Regions from separate parts of the Homo sapiens genome. Here all the other regions are linked to region 1. Evidence: promoter capture Hi-C in human tissues and cell types (Jung and others, 2019). All regions are on one chromosome and are shown on one strand. Each heading gives the region's core, a stretch centred on a gene start or on the middle of the fragment in contact. The rest is flanking DNA. Distances are from core to core; before and after follow the strand shown.

Region 1 (4,063 bases), core at 997-3,496:
CCCTCTCCCTTTCCCCCTCCAGCCCCACAGGCCTCTTTCACTTCCTCCTTGCTACAGTCAGCTCCACACATGGTTAACTCTTAACCCTCCTTCAGATCTTGGCCTAAACATCACTTCCCCAGGGAAGGCTTCCCTGAGCCCCCAACTCAAATCGGTCTCTTACCCCTCTCTTCAGCTTTCTCTTCTTATATTCACTATAGTTTGAATTATTAGTTTACCACTTCCAAGTTTTACTCGAAAGACACCTTCTTAGGAAGCCTTCCCAGGCCACCGTATAATATAAATTCAACTACCACCCCTGATACCTCAGATTCTCCTTCCCTGCTTCCTTCTTCTCCTTAGCATTTCACACTTTTTAACAGACTATATTTTTGTTATATATTTTATTTATTGTCTTCTCCCCCACTCCCAGGAAAGCACCACAAGGGCAATCATTTTTGCTTTCTTTGTTCACTGCATCTAGAACAATGCCTAACACGTATTTGTTGACAAATATTTGTTGTTGAATAAATTTCCACGACTATTTATTTATTTTGAGATGGAGTCTCACTCTGTAGCCCAAGCTAGAGTGCAACGGCACGATCTCAGGTCACTGCAACCTCCGCCTCCCGGGTTCAAGCAATTATCGTGCCTCAGCCTCCCAAGTAGCTGGGATTACAGGCATGCACCACCACACCCGGCTAATTTTGTATTTTTTTAGTGGAGACGGGGTTTCACCATGTTGGTCAGGCTGGTCTCGAACTCCTGATCTCAGGCGATCCACCCGCCTCGGCCTCCCAAAGTGCTGGGATTACAGGCGCGAGCCACCGCGCCCGGCCACGACTATTAATTATTAGACTTTCCCAATGGCTAAGAACTAAAACATGGTATCTTTCTGGCTTACCAATGTACTCCCAACACCTAGCTCAGTGCCTGGCACAGAGTAAGTGCTCAGTAAAAATTTATTTAATGAATCAAAGCCACAACTAGTTGAAAAATTGGAAAATGATCAAAATGGACGCACTAGCACCACACTTCTGCCCCTTTCACTGTGTAACGTAACAGTGAGGTTGAGGAAACAGACTACTAAAATACCACCAAGCATCCACCAGGCCAGGAATCTGTCTGTCCACATCCTCCGCACTCTGCCACACTGTGCACCACACTGCACCCGCGACAGAAGCACCCTACAGGCCCTCCATGAGCACAGGCCTGAACTCAAGTGGGCAAACCATAAGCCAAATACCGTCTTACTCCCCAAGTCCCATTCTTCTACTGCCAGTCCTATTCTAGACTAGTCCTGGATGCCAAACATGCTTCCCTGGGTGGGCCTGTGGACTTATTCCAATCCAGGACCTTTAATGCCACCTTTGGCCTACTCAAAAAATGGTTTAAAATCCCTAAACAGCTTCAATAATCCTGCAGTACTCAGGAGCAGGCATACCTAAGGTCATACGGACCCCTCCCCCTCACAAACGCTGATCCAAGGCCAGGAGGCCATCTGTCCAGCAGACGCTCTCCTGTCCTCCCTCAGGTCACACTGAGCCTCCCGCCAACCCCCTCGTTGGCAGGAAGAGCCCTTGCAGAGAGACAATTTTCACCCTGATCAACAGGCCTGGTCACCCCTGAGGACCCCAACTCTGGAGCTCTAGGAATACCTGTCTGCTCCGGGAGAAACCTTCCTCAGGGTCAGAACTTGGGCTCAGGGGAGGGGAGTACTGAGGAGCGCCAAAGAGGGTCGTTCCCCGAAGTGTCTGCCCTGTGACGGCGACAGCTCTTCGGGCGGCGGGGACGGTCGGGCTGACAGGCCGTCCCAGAGGGAGAAAGTGGCACCGTTATCCGTGCCCGGGCTGGGGGCCGCCGGCTATCGCCGAGGGCGGCCGCACGTCCCGCCCAGCGCGGAGGACAGCAGCGTGCCCGGCCTGCCAAGGAGCGGCGGTCGCAGCGGCGGTCGCAGCGGCGGAAGGGGCCGGCGCCCGACGGCCGGGGGCGGGGTGGGGTGGCGGCCCGGGCCCGCCAGGCGGCGGTCGGGGGAAGTGGCTGCCGCCTCTGGCGGCGGCCAGGGTCCGCCAGGCTGCAGGGCCGGGCCCCGGCTCGGGCTCGGACTCGGTCCCGGCTGCGATCCTCCCGGGCCCAGGCTGGGGCTGCCCCGGCCCGCAGGCCCCGCTCGGCCCGGCCCGCGGGGGGCGCTTACCTGGCGGCGGCGGCGGCGACTGCAGGCCAGAGTCTCGGCCGCGCGCGTCCCCAGCGCCGGCTGCGGGAGCCACAACATGGCGACGGCGATGGCGGGCGGGGCTGCGGCTCCGGGGGCGGAGCGGGGGCGGGAGCCGGCCTGGCGGCGGGACCTGGCTGGGGCTGCCGCGGCGGGGGATTGGGGGGGGGGGGGGGCAGGCGGAAGGCGACTCGGACCTGGGCACCGGCCCAGGACGGTGCGGTGGAGGGGCTGCCCCGGCCTGGGCCCGGCCTCCCGCCTCCCGCCTCCCGCCCGAGGCGGGCTGCGCGGCGCAGGCCCGGCGACGGCGACGACGGCGGCGGCGGGTAGGGCGGGGCGGGACGCGACGGGACGGGGCGGGGCGGGGACGGCGCCGCTCAGGGCTGGACCCCCGACCCCGGCCGGCCCCCGCCCGGCTCCAGTCCCCGCCACCCGTGCTAGGCACCCTGTGCGGTCGGGCAGGCAGCCGCTGCCAGCGACCTGGGCCTCTTGTCCTCTGACGCGCCTCGGGGCAGGGGCAGGGGCCGAGGCCGCCCACTAGAGGAACAGGATCTGCCTACGCAGCTGTCTCGCCCGGCAAAGAGCGCCCAGGACCCGGGACTGCGTCCTCTTCACTGAGACCTGGCGCATAGGGGGCCTAGTCGAGGCTGTTAAGTGAAAGCAAGCAGGGGTGGCGTGGGCCTGGCGCTCAGGTGCGCCCTAAATGTTTGGTCATAGCTGGCTACAAGGACATTCGCGCAGGCTTGGAGGTGCGGGGCAGCCTGACGTGTTGCCTCTGGGGTAACCGAGGGACGCGCGGCAAACAGAGATGGAGGACTGGCAACGGGTGCCTCGAAGAGGTAGACTGGGAGATCTCTCAGGGTTACTGGGGAAACGATGACTGTGCAGGGTGAGAACTCAGTGAGTCTGGCAGAAGGCTGGGAGGGTGACCGGCAGGACCTTCCAAGAACCCGGCGTACCTGGAAACTGGGTCCGCAGCATTAGGGCGGCAGCAAGGTCAGGGTGTGGGAACACGGAGATGAGGCCCTGGTGACTAGGAGTGAGCACACACTGCTAACCATGGAGAAATTCCTTCTCCAGGAAGGAGATGCAAATGTGCAAGATGGCTGGAACTAACATGCAGCCGGAGCCTGCTGTGCACCAGGCACAGAACTGAGTTGAAGAGCTTGTCTAAAGAGTATGTTAGCCAATGAAGCAATGGAGTTAATAAAGGGTGATGATTTCAAATGTTTGGCAGTGAGAGAGAGAAAAGTAGGCCTGGAGCTCAAGAAGTACCAAGAGTAAAGGAGAAAGTTGGGTCCTACTGTGGAAGCTGAGGCAAAAGCATCCCTTAAGCCGAGAAGTTTGAGTTCAGCCTGGGCAACATAGCGAGACCCTCCCTCTCTGCAAAAGAGTAAAGGGAAAAGTTGATTGTTTTTTGTTTTTTTTTTTTGTCTTTGGAGACGGAGTTTCGGTCTCGCAGCCCAGGCTGTAGTGCAATTGCGTGGTCTCGGCTCACTGCAACCTCTACCTCCAGAGTTCCAGTGATAATCCAGCCTCAGCCTTCAAAGTAGCTGGAATTACAGGCGCACGCCACCATGCCTGGCTTTTTTTTTTTTTTTTTTTTTTTTTTTTTTTGAGAGAGAGTTTCGCTCTTGTTGCCCAGGCTGCAGTGCAATGGCACAATCTCGGCTCACTGCAACCTCTGCCTCCTGGGTTCAACCGATTCTCCTGCCTCAGCCTCCCGAGTAGCTGGGATTACAGGCATGCGCCACCATGCCTGACTAATTTTGTATTTTTAGTGGAAATGGGGTTTCAACATGTTGGTCAGGCTGGTCTCAAACTCCTGAACTCAGGTCATCCACCCGCCTCGGCCTCCGAAAGTGCTGGGAT
Region 2 (4,063 bases), core at 555-3,054, 110 kb before region 1:
CCTCAGCACAGCCCCATTCCCGAGAACAGTAAGACTCCAGGGGCTTGCCCAGGTCTTCCTCCAGGGTAGCATATGGGATATTGTTTGCAGGCCGGTAGATCAGATACAGTGGGATGATCCTAAACATAGTTTCACCCTGCAGTAAGCAGGAAGTATGGCCCAGAGAGCTCCTCCCTCCCACCCAATTCTGTATTCTTGGACCTAAAAGAAGGGCCCTTCCAAGAATGTAATTCTCAGCTCCGAGCCCAAAGGACAGCAAAGGAAAGCAGCTCCACCCTGAGTTTGGGAAAGGAAATGGATATTTTTGGCTTCAGAGTCCTGTCCATTCTCTTGGTCAGTGGGATTAGAACCAAACCCTGCTATGGGCATAGGCAGACTGTGTGGCTTGGGTGAGGGATTGAGGCATGTATGTGTCAAACAGAAGGAGCACCTTTAGAGAGGATTCAACCAGATTGTGGCTCTCTGCCAGTGGGACCCCAGGTATGCAAAGGTCAGAGTTCAAGTCTCAAAATGCAAACAATTGCCATTTATAGCTGACTCCTACAAAAATCCACACTGACCCTGCCTGCATACCACGGAAGTGTCCTGATCAGTCTGCCTAGCTTAACCCACCCCATCACCTTCATGGAGTCCCAGAAATTGCTGTGTCCAAACTCTGCAATCAGCAACATCTGCACTAAAGAATGAGGAACCGGGGTGGGCGGGACTCAAGTCCAGAGCAGAGGCTTTTCTCAAGTGGAGAGTAAATGAGGTCTCTATTTCTACATTTTGTGAGGCCACTGAGCTGAGCATGGGGCTGTGAGCCTATTTGCACATGGGCATAACGCAGGATGCCCCTGGGAGGCTGTGAAATCACTGTCTTTGCAGAAGCCCAAGGCAACAGTGCTGCACACTGCACGTCCTCCTCGCTGCGTACTTACTCAGGCACCTCCCCAAAGCCAGGCGCGGCCCGGGCTTCTGCTGCGAAGATTTTGCAGTACTCCCGACTCATGTTCTGGATCTTGCACCCCTGTGGATGAGGGAACCAAATGTGGTGAGCAAAGAAATTCCTCAGTCCTCCACTGTGTCTACCCCTAAGTGAGTGGGCTACCTATTCTGTTAGGGGACTGAGAGGAGGATTCCAGCCCTGGGGGAGGAAGGGCTTACTCCTCCCTGCTCCCCACTCTGCATCTCATTTTCCTCTTTTGTATAACAAGCGGCTTTGGACTTCTTTTCAAACTGAGGTTTTCGAAGTGATTTCTGAACTATTTTTGGGAGTCCTTATGGTATGTGACAGTGTCCCAGAGACCACTCTGTGTAGAGCCAGGAAGACTGCCCACCCCACCCACAGCACCCCCCTTTTATCTCACATATAAACAAGGCTTCCATGAGAGATTATGTATGGGGCAGGGGGAAGGTTTCTGCTGCAAACATAGAGTTTGAAAACTATGGCCCAAGTCGTTTTGAAGCTCTCAAGCTCTCTGAGGCCAAGCATCTGAATTCTGGGCTGCATCTCAGGCTTTCCACAAGGTCCTCCTAGGAGCCTCATAAGGTTGAGACTGAGATGCCTTCTGCCTCGATACTGGGCATCCTAACAGGACCTGGGCTGGGAAAGGGGAGGGGGTGAGAGAATAAAAGAATGGGGTGTGAAGATGGGACATAGTACCTGGATGGTGACGTCGTAGTTTCTGCCCACAAGAGAAGTCTCACTGCTGGGCCCAAACACAAGCAGGCTGGACACCTTGATGATGCACGTGCGGCCCGACTCGAAGATGGGTTCCAGCCCGTAGATGACCTTGGCCTGGGAGGCCTTCCGAAGGCCACACCCATATCCACCCCCTCGGAGCTCCTCGCTTACCAGTCGCCCAAAGAGCTTGTCCCCCCAGCAGCCAGAGTCAGCCAGACCCTTAGCAAACACCATAGGGGTCATCTCAATCTCTTCTCCAACTGAAGGGGAACAGGAGAAATGTGGGAGACCAGGAGCTCCTGTCTCACCAATGTGGGGCTCACAGGGAAGGAAAAGGCCAGAAGAGCCTCCCACCCTGCCAACCTGCTGGGCTCACTTTCCGTCCACGCCTGCTCTTTGGGCACATTAAGTCCCCACCAGACTATGAGCTCCTTGGGGCAGAAACTCTATTTGATTCAACCCCTGCCATCTAGCGGTACCCATGTGGTATCCATCACATAACCCCTGCCTTCCACAAATGCGTCCTAAGCACTGTCCAAACACAGTGCTCAGGATGTGTTTGTGGAAGGCAGGGGTTTTCTGTGGCAACAATAATCAATACAGAATACCAGAATTACTTTGTTTTGGAATTCGTTGTTTTGATCAGATGAATACATGACTCCATTTCAACCAACACGTTTGACTGAAACAAAAAGTTTGCAGGACCAATCCAGCAGCAATGAGCACCCCTAATGCTCAAATTGTGACCGCTAAATATAATTTCCCATTAAAGGGAAACCAGAGCTTTCTAAAGAAATGGTTGATTCCAGGTCTAGGCAGAAAGTGTACAGCAAGGACCTGAAATATCGTGTGAATCCAGAAAGCAAGAGAGCTAGCAAAAGCTATTAGAGACTTGGCAGAAGGACACAGGGGCCAACCTGAAGGGGCTCCCTTGGGCCAAAAAGGAAACAATCTTGGCAACAAAAATAATTACTGCAACATATTGAACATATCAAATATGTTAAAAATCCATGTATTCATAGTTGCAACAACAAAAAAAAGAATCCAATCTCCTCCCTCAAAAAATAAACCTCACTGGTCACCTATGGAAAACGGTAGGGTAGGGCACCAACTCGTTATTCTAAATTCTAGTAACTAAAGGGAAAAGAGCAAGTATTTATCCTTCATTTCCTGTTGGAACTTAACGTATTGGGATAACCAAATAATCATCCCTTTTTTACAGAAAAAAATCAGCTAATGAATGAAGAAGAAAAGACCAAATTAAACTATCTCCATGTTGCAACTGCTAATGAAATAATAGATTTAGGCAATAATCAGTGACTGCCAAAACCCCTAGATAACAATAGGGTTTGTATCAGATTGTTTTTAACTTTAAAAGGGGATGGATCACACAGATGCACCTGAATGAACCCAGTGACCAACCTTAACATTACTAAAAGTGAAACAATCTGACAGTATGTGCCTCCAGATAGGATGCAAAAGGTATACACAGCACCTGTGAGTTATTCTTGCCCCTCCTCCAAAAAAAAAAATCACACCTGAATCTGACCAAACCTCTAAATCTGATTACCAATTTGGAAGAAGCATTTAACATGTTAAATGGGAACACAATCAACAAAATCCAGAATGTTAGAAATTCTATACCAGTGACTTTAACAAACATATGGCAAAGGAAGAAAACAAATAAAGTAGGAGGAACTGTTAAATATTAAGAGAGACTTGGGAGCTGCATCAGCCAAAAGCAATGAGTGGTTCCTGATTCAAATAAACCAACGCATATGAGACAGTTGGGGAAATCTGACTGGATGTTTGATGATATTAAATAATTATTACTTAGTTTTGAGGTTGAGGTTTTATTTGATATTGATTAAATTTTATTTGATTACTAAACAAAAGTCACTAATTGGCACTTTGGGAGGCCAAGGCAGGTGGATCCCTTGAGGTCAGGAGGTCGAGACCAGACCTGCCAACATAGTGAAACCCATCTCTACTAAAAATACAAAAACGAGCTGGGCATGGTGGTGCATGCCTGTAATCCCAGGTACTGGGGAGGCTGAGGCACGAGAATTGCTTGAACCCAGGAAGCGGAGGTTGCAGTGAGCCAAGATCACACCACTGCACTCCAGCCTGGGCAACAGAGTGAGACTCCATCTCAAAACAAAGTCACTAGTTGGATGAATGAGTGATTGAAAGAGTGAGAGAATGAAGGAATTAATGCATTTGTTAGCAAATACAGCTCCAAACATCTTTTTATCACTGGCTGCCTTCACAGTCCCAAGCCTTAGCCTGTCTCTTGTAGGAGCAGTACGTGCCCATCCCTATTTGAGCCCTTCAAATGTGTATCAAACTTTGAAGGTATTTCATGATCACCAGGGGGCCTGCTGAAAACGCAATATT
Region 3 (4,063 bases), core at 1,101-3,600, 95 kb before region 1:
ACATCTTTGTCTTGGAAGGCAATCTACCTAGTTGTGTTCAGGCTACAAATTCCATTCAGGCCTCTGAGGTTATAGTTTCAATCTCGGTTCCATTTTCCAAGCATTTCCAATGCTGTTTGGGGTTTTTTTATTGTTGTTGTTTTATTTTTGAGACGAAGCTTTACTCTGTCACCCAGGCTGGAGTGCAATGGCATGATCTCAGCTCACTGCAACCTCTGCCTCCCAGGTTCCCGGGTTCAAGCAATTCTCCCACCTCAGCCTCCCGAGTAGGTGGGACTACAGGCATGTGCCACTATGCCTGGCTAATTTTTTCTATTTTTAGTAGAGAAAGTGTTTCACTATTTTGGCCACGCTGGTCTCGAACTCCTGACCTCAAGTGATCTGCCTGCTTCGGCTTCCCAAAGTGCTGGGATTACAGGCATGAGCCACCACACCCGGCCTGCAGTGCTATTTGGATCTGCCCTGTGTGTGTGCCACCCAGTGGCCAGTGTGGGACTTACATGATGGTTCATTAGTGTTTTTATTCTCGAAGTTTTTTATTCTCCCAAGTATTTCATTCTCAAAGTTTTTTATATGCTCTTCAGAATCAGATCCATGCAGGAACAATCTGGGGATGAGCCCAGAAATTTATAAAGAGTTTATAAACCCAGAGGTCATTAATGATTCTCAGAGGTCATTTTCCCAAGCTTTTCCCTTTCCACGGTTTCCCCCATAGGGCCCCCTTTTTCAGTCTTCTGGCCAAATAGCTGGAGCTTCCTTTACCCCTCTCTGCCACATTGTTTCACACATGAGCCTGTGATCTGGACCAAGGAAGAGACCCAGGAGAAAAAAAAAGGAACAGGGACTTGTCCCACTCTTAGGATCACAGCTCCTCTGAATAGAGGGGAAGATTCTCTTCTCTCAAAGTTTTAGGCACCTGTGGCCTCTGTTGCTACCACTGTCACTGCCAAGAAATCTCTTTTCCATTCCTGAAGGCTGATCTAGAGGGCTTCTGGAACTCTCTCTGCCCAAGTTAATGTTTACATCTGGGTTTCAAACAGCATTAAGACCAGGCCAGGAAATGCCAGAAGGGAAAAAAAAAAAAAGTAAACACCGTAGGTTCAGTGGTACTTTGAGTTCTGGTCTTCATCCCCAATCTGTCTGCGACTATTTGCTTTTCAAAGTTGTCAAGTAGGTGTATTATACATTTTGCCTAAATTTTAGGCTGCATTCAGTGGGAGATACAGAATCAAGTGTATTTACTCCATCTTATCCAGAAATAAAACTGCCATAACCAGAATAAATAATATTAGTTATTGTATTTTTCAGCTCTGGAATTCTAGTTGGTTCATTTTCAAGTCTTTTCCACCTTTTTTTTTTTGAGACGGAGTCTCGCTCTGTTGCCCAGGCTGGAGCGCGGTGGCGTGATCCTAGCTCACTGCAACCTCCACCTCTCGGGTTCAAGCGATTCTCCTGCCTCAGCCTACTGAGTAGCTGGGATTACAGATGTGCATCACCACACCCAGCTAAGTTTTGTATTTTTAGTAGAGATGGGGTTTCACCATGTTGGCCAGGCTAGTCTCGAACTCCTGACCTCAGGTGATCCATCTGCCTCAGCCTCCCAAAGTGCTGGGATTACAGGCGTGAACCACTGCGCTCGGCCTTTTCCACTTTTTATAGTTTCTAGGTATTTGGTGAAATTTGCAATCTTGTCTTCTTATCTCCTTCGATATATGAAGGAGGTAAACTAATTTTAATTTTATAATTCATGTCTAATAATTCCAAAAGTTGGAAACCTGTGGGCCAATTTCTTTCTTTTCTTTTGTTTTTTGAGACAGAATCTCACTCTGTCACCGAGGCTGGAGTGCAGTAGCACAATCTCAGTTCACTGCAACCTCTGCTTCCCAGGTTTAAGTGATTCTCGTGCCTCAGCCTCCCAAGTAGTTGAAATTACAGGCATGCACCACCACACCTGGCTAATTTTTGTTTTTTGTTTTTTTGGGTTTTTTTGAGATGGAGCCTCACTCTGTCACCCAGGCTGGAGTGCAGTGGTGCAATCTCAGCTCACCACAACCTCCGCCTCCCAGGTTCAAGCAATTATCTGCCTCAGCCTCCCGAATAGCTGGGATTACAGGCATCCGCCACCACGCCCAGGTAATTTTTGTATTGTTAGTAGAGACAGGGTTTCACCATCTTGGCCACGCTGGTCTTGAACTCCTGAGCTTGTTATCCACCCACCTTAGCTTCCCAAAGTGCTGGGATTACAGGCATGAGCCACCATGCCTGGCCTAATTCTTATATTTTTAGTAGAGACAGGGTTTCACCACATTGGCCAGGCTGGTCTTGAACTCCTGGCTTCAAGTGATCTGCCCACCTCAGCCTCCTAAAGTACTGCGATTACAAGCGTGAGCCACTGTGCCCGGCAACCTGTGGGCCAATTTCTATCTTCTGTGGACTTATCTTCATTTCATGCTGAATATTATATTTGAAATACTTTTTAAAAATAATTTCAGGCTTAAGATGATGCTGTCATCCTCCAGATATGATTTTTGTTTGCTTCTGCCAGGTGCCTGAGGGCACTAGGTATCTTGAACCACCTAATTCTAATTTCAGGGATTGAGATATTTCTTAGTTATCCATGTAACTTGGAGCTCGTCAGTAACTCAATACCGTGAGACTAATTTACTTGATTCCCCTTTCTCCTAGGGTACAAACCTTCAGAGTCCCAACCCAAAACCCAGGGGGCTTACAAGGGCTCCCACTCTTGAGACCATGGGCTCTAATTTTTGTCTCCTTAGTCTCATGAGACTATCTAAACTATTGCTCACTGCAACCTCCACCTCCCAGGTTCTAGCAATTCTCCTGCCTCAGCCACCCAAGTGGTCAGAATTACAGGCACGTGCCACCACACCCGGCTAATTTTTTGTATTTTTAGTAAAGATGGGGTTTCACCATGTTGGCCAAGCTGGTCTCAAACTCCTAACCTCAAGTGAGCCACCTGCTTCGGCCTTCCAAAGTGCTGGGATTACAGGCATGAGCCACTGTACCCAGCCTAACCATGAGGTTTTTGTTGGAGCAGTGGAACCAACACAGACAACTTCTCAGGTACCACACTGCCTGAGCCCCTCCTCCTACCTTTGGGAGGCAAGGAAGAGGGGGCTGGTACTTCCTCCTCTGGCCCTACCAGGAGGATGCCACCATCTGGTATTGGGTTCCTCACCATTTAGGCAGAGAAGCCAGATTTGCACACTCACTTGGCCACCAGCCTGGTCCCTTCCTAAATGAGCTATGAGGGCCTATGAGAGCCATCTCTTCCAAAAGTCCCTGCTGTCCAGCCTGTGGGCTGTCAGGCATGTGCAGCAGCCCCACAAAGCCTTCCCCGGGCCACTGTGAACTTACCATTCCAGTGGCCAAAACTACAGGAGACCAGGCATGAGGGGGACAAGAGTCAGGAACAGGTTCCAGAAAGTCTGGTTTTAGGTCCTTGAGGTTTGTTCCACTCCAAAGCCCTCTGAACTACTGTTCCTACAGTCTAACCTTAGCACCCATGAAATAAAACCATTTCCCATGGTCACCCTTAAAACTAGTCTTTCCCTCCTTCCCACCATGAAAGTTCTCTCCATGGGAAAGCCCCTCCTGTTCTCCACAAAGCATCCTTTCCCCTTTGCCCTCTGCCAGGTGCTGTATCAGCTTGTCCCTCATGTGCTTCCCTTCACTGCTCCGAGAAACCACCTGTCCTCTGTCCCTACCCCTGGGAAACACTGCTTTCCTCCTGTTCCCCCATGAAGCCATTCCCGATCTATAACTGCTTCCTCTATCCTAAGAAACAGTCTCATCTTAGTTCTCACCAAAACCAGAGGATGTCTCCACTTAAGGTTATCAGATTTAGCAAAAAGAAATACTGGGCTGGGCACGGCGGCTCACGCCTGTAATCCCAACATTTTGGGAGGCTGAGGTGGACAGATCACTTGAGGTCAAGAGTTCAAGATCAGCCTGGTCAACACAGCAAAACCCTGTCTCTACTAAAAATACAAAAATTAGCTGAGCATGGTGCCTCACACCTGTAATTCCAACTACTTTGGAG

What was found. Contacts are between HindIII fragments. The study calls those that stand out against the background at their distance.
Region 2: a fragment that was not itself captured here is called in contact with the fragment with the promoter of ZNF592 in region 1 in 2 of the 25 tissues and cell types used here (mesenchymal stem cells and spleen).
Region 3: a contact is called between a fragment that was not itself captured here and the fragment with the promoter of ZNF592 in region 1, in 2 of the 25 tissues and cell types used here (spleen and thymus).

What each region holds. Positions count from the first base shown.
Region 1 is chr15:84,746,775-84,750,837 of GRCh38, reverse strand. ZNF592 (zinc finger protein 592) reads right to left here and starts at 2,246. Exons shown (of 11, transcript NM_014630.3): 1 at 2,174-2,246. RefSeq lists enhancers at 1,275-1,354, 1,883-2,722, 2,795-3,094 and silencers at 1,755-2,244, 2,305-2,724. The HindIII fragment of the contact is 21,328 bases long and covers 1-4,063 here.
Region 2 is chr15:84,860,498-84,864,560 of GRCh38, reverse strand. It overlaps ALPK3 (alpha kinase 3), which reads right to left. Exons shown (of 14, transcript NM_020778.5): 10 at 1,646-1,926; 11 at 921-1,009; 12 at 1-119. Among named protein-coding and RNA genes, the nearest start is that of SLC28A1, 22 kb to the left of the region's middle. RefSeq lists enhancers at 372-871, 872-1,373, 1,942-2,443. The HindIII fragment of the contact is 9,691 bases long and covers 1-4,063 here.
Region 3 is chr15:84,842,154-84,846,216 of GRCh38, reverse strand. The region is part of intron 5 of ALPK3 (alpha kinase 3); the gene reads right to left. Among named protein-coding and RNA genes, the nearest start is that of ALPK3, 27 kb to the right of the region's middle. The HindIII fragment of the contact is 3,856 bases long and covers 423-4,063 here.